2 separate regions of the Homo sapiens genome follow, and region 1 is linked to region 2. Evidence: promoter capture Hi-C in human tissues and cell types (Jung and others, 2019). All regions are on one chromosome and are shown on one strand. The core of a region is centred on a gene start or on the middle of the fragment in contact, and the rest is flanking DNA. Distances in the headings are between cores, read along the strand shown. Region 1 overlaps LOC124902693. Region 2 holds the start of POLA2 (DNA polymerase alpha 2, accessory subunit).

Region 1 (4,161 bases), core at 360-2,859, 560 kb after region 2:
GAATTGTAATATAATCATTATGATCATTCCTGCTTTAGACACTGCAAATACTTGATGAAGTCAACATAAAGAGAATAACTTTTATAGAGTGTTCTACAGTTGACATAAATGTTTTCATATAAATGATTTCATTTGTCCCTCCCAACAAGCCCATTAATTTGCAGACGAGGAAAACAGGATTGCAGATCAGTGGCTTCCTTCCAACAGGTAGGGCACACTCCCCCTCGGGGGCTCTGCCCTTGAGGCTCCCCGCTATGAAAAGACTTCCTCCAAACCACAGCTTCCCCCTCCCCTCTTGCTGGGCTCTGCTTCAAGGGTCACCAGAAGGGCCTTCCTCAAAGAGCGGCCCTCCTCCCCATCGTCATTCTCTCTCCCTTACCCTGCTTGAGTTTTTCTTTAAAATTCTTAGGACATATTATATTGACATTATTTCTTTTTGTCTCCTTCCACAACAATGTAAGCACCAAGAGAACAGTGCTATTTGTCAGTTTTGTTCTCTGTTATAATCCTGACATCTGGAATGGTACCTGACAAATAATAGGTGCTTAATAAATATTGTTAAATGAATGCATTTGTTAAAGGAATAATAACTTTACCATGAACTTGGCCAGATCTTTTGAGGATCCAAGGCTTTTTAGGTCACACCACAAAAACAAAATTACAATATGATGGAGATAAAATACCAGTTGTGAGAGGCCTGTAACAAAGCGCTACCCAGTTCACTGATTATTACCTGCGTGTGCTCCACTTATCCCCCAGGGAGGCACCTGTCTGTTGTATCCCTGGCTCCCAGCATGGTGCTGGACACCTAGTATTAGGCACTGATCTGCATCAGTAAGAAACAATGGATTCTGAGCAACACAAACAAGAACAGAACTGGCTACAGTGCACATCCCGGTCCCACCCTAAGTGTGCATATGGCAGGGAACGGGGAGTCTCTGAGGACCAGAGGAAGGAGGACACGCAGGACAGGGGCCAGAGTCCAGGGAGCAGCAGAGCATGGCCTTCTGAGCCCCACGTGATTTGTGTAGAAATAGCTCCCGAGACCAAGCTGATCTGCCATGTAAACCTCGCACGATTACTTCCTGTTCCCAGGGGAGAACTTGCAGGGCTAGCCTCTCGTGAGTGGGGTCAGCATGGTCTGACAGGATGGATGACCCCTGTGCTATGGACAGTGAGCCTCTGAGGGGCAGGGGCCACTCCATAATACTGTCCAGTGGCCTCTGAGAAATTCCTGGCCAGCACTGGCCGCCTTCCTCCAGTTCCTGAGCCAGGCAGCCAGGTGTGATGGAAAGTTGTCAGGTGTAACTCAAAGAACATAGATTAAGAGTCTAGAGGCCGAGCGCAGTGGCTCACACCTGTAACCCCAGCACTTTGGGAGGCCAAGGCAGGTGGATCACCTGAGGTCAGGAGTTTGAGACAAGCCTGGACAACATGGTGAAACCCCATCTCTACTAAAAATACAAAAATTAGCCGGGCATGGTGGCAGACACCTGTATTCCCAGCTACTTGGGAGGCTGAGGCAGGAGAATTGCTTGAACCCGGGAGGTGGAGGTTGCAGTGAGCTGAGATCAAGCCACTGCATTCCAGCCTGGGTGACAGAGCGAGACTCTGGCTAAAAAAAAAAAAAAAAAAAAAGCAAGAAAAGAAAAGAAAAAGAGTCGACTCCTGCACTTTGCTGGCAGCTCTGCTTCCTGCACCTGTTTGAACCTGTATCTCTAAGGGCAGTATACAGATTGCAAACAAAAACTCACACAAGCATGAAATGTGGTCATTTGCCCAACCTGACCATGGGCACGGAGAATTATTGTTATACTTTAAATGGAACATAATATTTAATACAGATAAATACCTGTTTGCCAGTGTGGACCTCACATTTGAACGTTATGGTACAGAAACATGTTTTCACCCTTTAATCATAAAAGTTTATTAAAATGTTCTTTTTTTTTTTGAGACCGAATTTCACTCTTGTCACCCAGGCTGGAGCACAAAGGTGCAATCTTGGCTCACTGCAACCTCCGCTTCCTGGGTTCAAGTGATTCTCCTGCCTTGGCCTCCTAAGTAGCTGGAATTACAGGCACCCGCCACCATGCCTGGCTAAGTTTTGTATTTTTAATAGAGATGGGGTTTCACCATGTTGGCCAGGCTGGTCTTGAAAAAATGTTCTGAAAGTGAAGTTTGTTTCTTTCCTTCTTTCCTTCCTTTCTTCCTTCCTTCCTTTTTTCCTTTTTTTTTTTTTCATGGTCTCGCTCTGTCACCCAGGCTGGAGCATAGTAGCACAATCTCGGCTCACTGCAACCTCCACCTCCCGGGCTCAAGTGATCCTCCCACACCAGCTTCCCGAGTAGCTGGGACTACAGGCGTGGTTCACCAGGACCCTCTAATTTTTGTATATTTTGCAGAGACGCGGTTTTGCCATTTACCTAGGCTGCTCTCAAACTCCTGGACTCGAGCAATCTGCACACCTCGGTGTCCTAAAGTGCTGGGATTATAGGTGTGAGCCACTGCACCCAGACTCTGAAACTGAATTTCTATAGAAAACTCCAAGCTTTGTAAACTGTGGTCCACACCCCCATAAACATGCACAGGTGCGCGCGTGTGCACACACACACACACACACACACAATCTTCCCCCACAGCTTCCTTATCATATGTCCAAAGTACGCAGCTCAAAATTCAAACAAATTATTTATTACAAAACAAATTTTAAAAAATCACAACGTGATTCGCATACTGGCAATAGGCTGTTACTTGCCATTTGCCAGGGTATGATTTGTATTTTGTTTTAATTTATGCTGGTTTCAGGAACTATGGCCATTTGCCTTTTTCCTGCACTACCCGTGCGCCTCCTGTGGGCACTCAGCATGGGGGGGCATGTAGTTTTTCTCACTTCCCGCAGCACGTTTTTATCTTATATTGCCTACAATTCAGAAAAGGTATTTAGCCATCAGTGGAGGCCTGGGCTTGGCGTGCATTCAATGCACAAACACAGCCTGGCTTCAAAGCCAAGCTGAGTGGCACACCTCGTGACAGAACAGCAGAAAGGCAGACCCAGGTGCCTGCGGAGGTGGCAGGGACCCCAGGCAGGCCAGTGGGGCCTGGCCAACAGGGGGGCACAGGCCCCAGCTGAAGGAAACAGAGAGAGGCAACTCCAGTTCCTATATGGGCCCAGTGTGGCCAGATCTTCTCATTTTCCAAGAAAAGCCAGAAACTCACTCTTTAATGTGAATCTCTGCATTTTAAAAAGGTACCAATTAATTCTAAACATGGTCTTAAAATATTCTTTGGGGCAAACATAACACATCTATGGCCGATGTGGCATCAGAGCCACCTAACTGTGAGCTCTCCGGAGCAGAAGATGGTTCCAGCAGGCTTCTGGCCCGAATCCGCCATTCATTCACTGCTGACTAGGGTGGTCGCTTCACCTCCCAATCACATGGCACTGAAGACCCAGCCAGCTGGTAGAGCTACCACATAGGTCCAAAACCTCCTCACACCACCACTTACTACCAACACATACTAGCTATGTCGTTTCGATTGACCACTCTGACGGGCTTCAATGCCACCTATAAAATGTGGATAGTAATACAATTGCGGTTGTGGGATTAAGTGAGATAATGTGTGTAACACGCCTAATGCAGAGTAAGCATTTCACGTCAGCTACTGCTATCCATGCGCCTGGCGCCTCATTCCTCACCATCCATTCACATTAATCAGCCAATTCTGTTAAATGGGACTTTTAATACTCTCTCAAGTCTTGTTTTTATTCCTCCTCTCTCCGCTGTAATTCATAACCTCATCCTCTCTACCCTGAACTATTTATTTATTTTGTGTGTGTGTGTGTAAGAGTGTGTGTGTGTGTGTGTGTGTGTGTGTGTTTGAGATAGGGTCTTGCTCTGTCACCCAGGCTGGAGTGCAGTGGTGTGCGATCAAGGCTCACTACAGCCTCAATCTCCCAGGCTCAAGTGATCCTCCCACCTCAGCCTCCTGAGTAGCTTCAACTATTGGCATATGCCACCATGCCCAGCTAATTTTGTTTGTTTTTGTAGAGATGGGGTCTCACTCTGTTGCTCAGGCCAGTCTGGAACTCTTGGACTCAAGCAATCCTCCTGCCTCGGCCTCTCAAAGTGTTGGCATTTCAGGCTTGAGCCACCTTGCCAG
Region 2 (4,193 bases), core at 357-2,856:
CACGATCTTGCTCTGTCGCCCAGGCTGGAGTGCAGTGAGGCGATCATGACTCACTTCAGCCTCGACCTCCCGAACTCAAGCGCTCCTCCAGCCTCAGCCCCCAGAGTGGCTGAGATCACAAGAACCCGCCACCACCGCCCGCTAATTTTTTGTAGAGAAGGGGTTTCGCCACGTTGCCCAGGCCGATCTTGAACTCCTGGGCTCAAGTTAAGGGAGGAGACCACCCCTCATATTGTCTTACGCCCAATTTCTGCCTCCAAAGAAAGAAAAAGTAAAACTAAAAGGCAGAAATGAAATCCACAAGCAGACAGCCCGGCCTCACACCCTAGGCTTGGTAAAGATGGACCCCTGACCTAATCAGTTATGTTATCTATAGATTACAGACACTGTATAGAAAAGCACTGTGAAAATCCCTATCCTGTTTTGTTCTGATCTAATTACTGGTGCATGCAGCCCCCAGTCACGTACCCCCTGCTTGTTCAATTGATCACGACCCTCTCAGGCGCACCCCCTTAGAGTTGTGAGCCCTTAAAAGGGACAGGAATTGCTCATTCGGGGAGCTCGGCTGGTGAGACAGGAGTCTTGCCGATGACCCCAGCCGAATAAACCCCTTCCTTCTTTAACTCGGGTGTCTGAGGAGTTTTGTCTGTGGCTCGTCCTGCTACAAAGTGATCCGCCTGCCTCGGCCTCCCAAATGCTGGGATTACAGGCGTGAGTGACCGCACCTGGCCTGGGATGGACATTTTAAAGGTTCCTGATACATATTGCTAAATTGTTTTCTCGAAACGCTCTATACCATCCCACCAGCATTGTATGACGCCTACGGTTGAGATTTTTGGCTCAAAGAATTACGGTGTATTTCAAGGGGAGAACCCTCTTCTCATCTTACCCCTAAACTCTATCCTTGAGTGACCTACCTTCACTCCCAAGCCTCCAGTCACCCACTGGGAATCTCTACCTGGAAATCCCAGAGGCACTCAAACTTAACGTGTCCAAAACTAAATTATCCGTCACCTTCCCACCTCATATCCCCCCAAATGCCCCAGATTCAGAAAACATACCCATCACTGTGGCTGGCACCACGGTGATAAGCACGATAATAACCATGGCAACCAGATTCCCTACTGAAGCCATTCTTTTAGGATGAACCAAGGGCACAACAGGCAGAGATGACAAGGGGAATGGAGAAGGGGGTACAGTAAGTTTTAGATAGTCGAAGGCACGCGCACGACAACGCCTGCGCACCACGGAACAGGGCAAAAGGGTGACAAACATGCGCCACTGAGTTTTATCGAGCAGCCGATGCCCAGAAAACAGGCATCCGCACACAGACTCAGTTTCCTTGTAGGCAACTCCCGGGCGTTGCGAGTCACAACCGGCATTCTCGCGCCGTGAGAGAGAACTGCGCAGCTGCTGACTGGCGGGCCGCCAGGCGCGTGCGTAGAGACGCCCACACGCCCGCTGATGCGCACGCGCCCTGGGCCGCGCGTGCGCGCGTGGGGTTCCGGAATGAGCCGGGGAAAGCAAGGGGAAGGTTTGGGGTTGGCTCCCGGTTTCGCGCATGCGTGCACTGCACAAACCATTTGGCGGGTTTTTCCGGCCACTCAGTTCTGCCACCGTCACTGAGAAGCTCAGCGGTAGCTTTTGGGAAGCAGGACGTTCTCACCAGGAGAGCGTCCTCTCGAGATTTCTGCTCCCTCCATTCAGGGCGTTTGGGAGCCACCCCTTCATTTTTTAAAAAAAGTATTTCTCTGTGACCGACGGCCGGGGCCTTCTGACGGTCTGAGGTCTTGCTTGGGCCAGTCACCTCCTGTCACGGTCCGCGGAGGGGGGAAGGATAAGAGGGCGAGGAGCTCATCGCTCGCCACCCCCGTGGGCTTCTTGGGCGCAGGTCGGAGCTGGGTGGGCCGGCTCCCCGGCCCCTGGCTTGGGCGACCATGTCCGCATCCGCCCAGCAGCTGGCGGAGGAGCTGCAGATCTTCGGCCTAGACTGCGAGGAGGCTCTAATTGAGAAATGTGAGTCCCGCACCCCTCCCGCCCTGCAGCCGTGCTCCACGCTCTCGCCCGAGTTCCTCGGCGCCTAGAACCGAAAGTGGAGCGCTTCCAATTTCCACTTCCCCTGGAGCAGAGTTCTCGGTGGCTGTGAGATGAAGAATCAAACTTGAGTTTTGAGATTTAGGATGTGGGGACTTTGAAATGCCCACCGGGTACCGCTTGGATGCCAAATCAAAAATAGGAATATGCAGCACGATTTTAAACCAACTCGAAGTTCCCGAAAGGCGGAATTGGGATGTGCTAGATAGAGACTAGGCACTGGTGGCACCTGAGTTTGGAAATTGTTGAAGCCCCGGTAACAAAGCAACAGATGTGGGGGTTTTGAAATGTAGCTTTTTATTCTTGGCTCCTCCCTTTCCAGCCTACACCTTAAACCTCTGCTGATCCATCAGTTATTTTATCATAGCTGTTGGTGGTCTGTGCAAATATGAATCCCTTGAGGTAGGTTCCTAAAATTGAATTTGAGCTGTGGAAGGAGCTTTAGGGAGCTTTACAGATGGAGAAACAGACAAGGAAAGCTAATTGCCTGAGCTGTCTGTGAAGCCAGGTGTCCTGCCTTGGAGTCCCGTGCTGCATCATACGGGTCCATCGTGTTGGTCAAGCTGTAGAGCAGTGTAAGGAGTCATTTGAAGCAAAGCCTGGGAGATGTGGAAGTTCTAGAATCGGTATGAATGTGCACCTGCCTTAACCACTCAACACTTTGAACTTCTTATATACAAAAAGATAACGAAACGTTAATTTATGGTGAGAAATTCCTTTCAGAAACCAGAATACTTCAAGTCTTCATGCCCAGTGCCTTCTCTCTCTCTCTTTTTTTTTTTTTTTTTTTTTGACAGTCTTGTTTTATCACCCAGGCTGGAGTGCAGTGGTGCAATCTCGGCTCACTTCAGCCTCCGCCTCCCAGGTTCAAGCGATTCTCCTGCCTCAGCCTCCCAAGTAGCTGGGATTACAGGCGCCCGCCACCAGGCCCGACTAATTTTTTTTTGTACTTTTAGTAGAGAAGGGGTTTCACCATGTAGGCCAGACTGCTCTCGAACTCCTGACCTCAAGTGATCCACCCACCTTGGCCTTCCAAAGTGCTGGGATTACAGGCATAAGCCAGCAGGCTCGGTCCTTCTCTTTTTAAAAGAAGACTAGCCAGGTGTGGTGGCTCACGCCTGTAATCCCAGCATTTTGGGAGGCCAAGGCAGGTGGATAATCTGAAGTCGAGAATTTGAGACCAGCCTGACCAACATGGAGAAACCCTGTCTCTACTAAAAATACAAAATTAGTCGGGCGTGGTGGCGCATGCCTGTAATCCCAGCTACTCAGGAGGCTGAGGCGGAAGAATCGCTTGAACATGAGAGGCAGAGGTTGTGGTGAGCCGAGATCACACCATTGCACTCTAGCCTGGGCAACAGGAGCGAGACTCTGTCTCAAAAAAAAAAAAAAGACTTAAGTGGAAAACCTGATCATAGTCAGAAATGTATGTGGTAAGCATGAAATCAGCATGAGAGAAATTAGTTATGTGAACCAGATTTGTAAAGGCTTCAGGCCAAGATGCCAGTTGCTTTCATCTCATGGCAATGGCTTTGGAATTGTGGACTTTGGATCATCAGTAACTTCAGTGGCACCTTAATGTTTCCTGACAGTCAACCGTATTTCCCTGTTTTTTTTGTTGTTGTTTGTTTTGTTTTTTGAGATGGAGTTTCTCATTGCCCAGGCTGGAGTGCAATGGTGCAATCTTGGCTCACTGCAACCTCTGCCTCCCGAGTTCAAGCGGTTCTCCTGCCTCAGCCTCCCGAGTAGCTGGGATTACAGGCTCCCGCCACCACGCCCGGCTAATTTTTTGTATTTTTAGTAGAGATGGGGTTTCGCCATGTTGGGCAGGCTGATCTCGAACCCCTGACCTCCAGTGATCCTCCCACCTCGGCCTCCCAAAGTGCTGGGATTATAGGTGTGAGCCACCACACCTGTTCTACTTTTTGTATTTTCAGTAGAGACAAGGTTTCACCATGTTGGCCAGGCTGGTCTTCAACTCCTGACCTCAGGTGATCCGCCCACCCTGGCCTCCCAAAGTGCTGGGATTACACTGCGCCAGGCCCCTGGTCTCTTTACTCTGAGTCTTCCAGATGATTGTTTTCCACCTTCTCCTGTAA

The links. The method cuts DNA at HindIII sites, captures the fragments that hold promoters and counts their contacts. A contact is called where the count stands out against the background at its distance.
Region 1: a fragment that was not itself captured here is called in contact with the fragment with the promoter of POLA2 in region 2 in 2 of the 25 tissues and cell types used here (aorta and bladder).

What each region holds. Positions count from the first base shown.
Region 1 is chr11:65,820,347-65,824,507 of GRCh38, forward strand. All of the region lies in intron 3 of LOC124902693, which reads right to left. Among named protein-coding and RNA genes, the nearest start is that of SNX32, 12 kb to the right of the region's middle. The HindIII fragment of the contact is 8,424 bases long and covers 1-4,161 here.
Region 2 is chr11:65,260,356-65,264,548 of GRCh38, forward strand. It overlaps POLA2 (DNA polymerase alpha 2, accessory subunit), which reads left to right and starts at 1,607. Exons shown (of 18, transcript NM_002689.4): 1 at 1,607-2,016. The coding sequence starts at 1,938. RefSeq lists enhancers at 745-1,632, 1,627-1,876, 1,633-2,518. The HindIII fragment of the contact is 14,798 bases long and covers 1-4,193 here.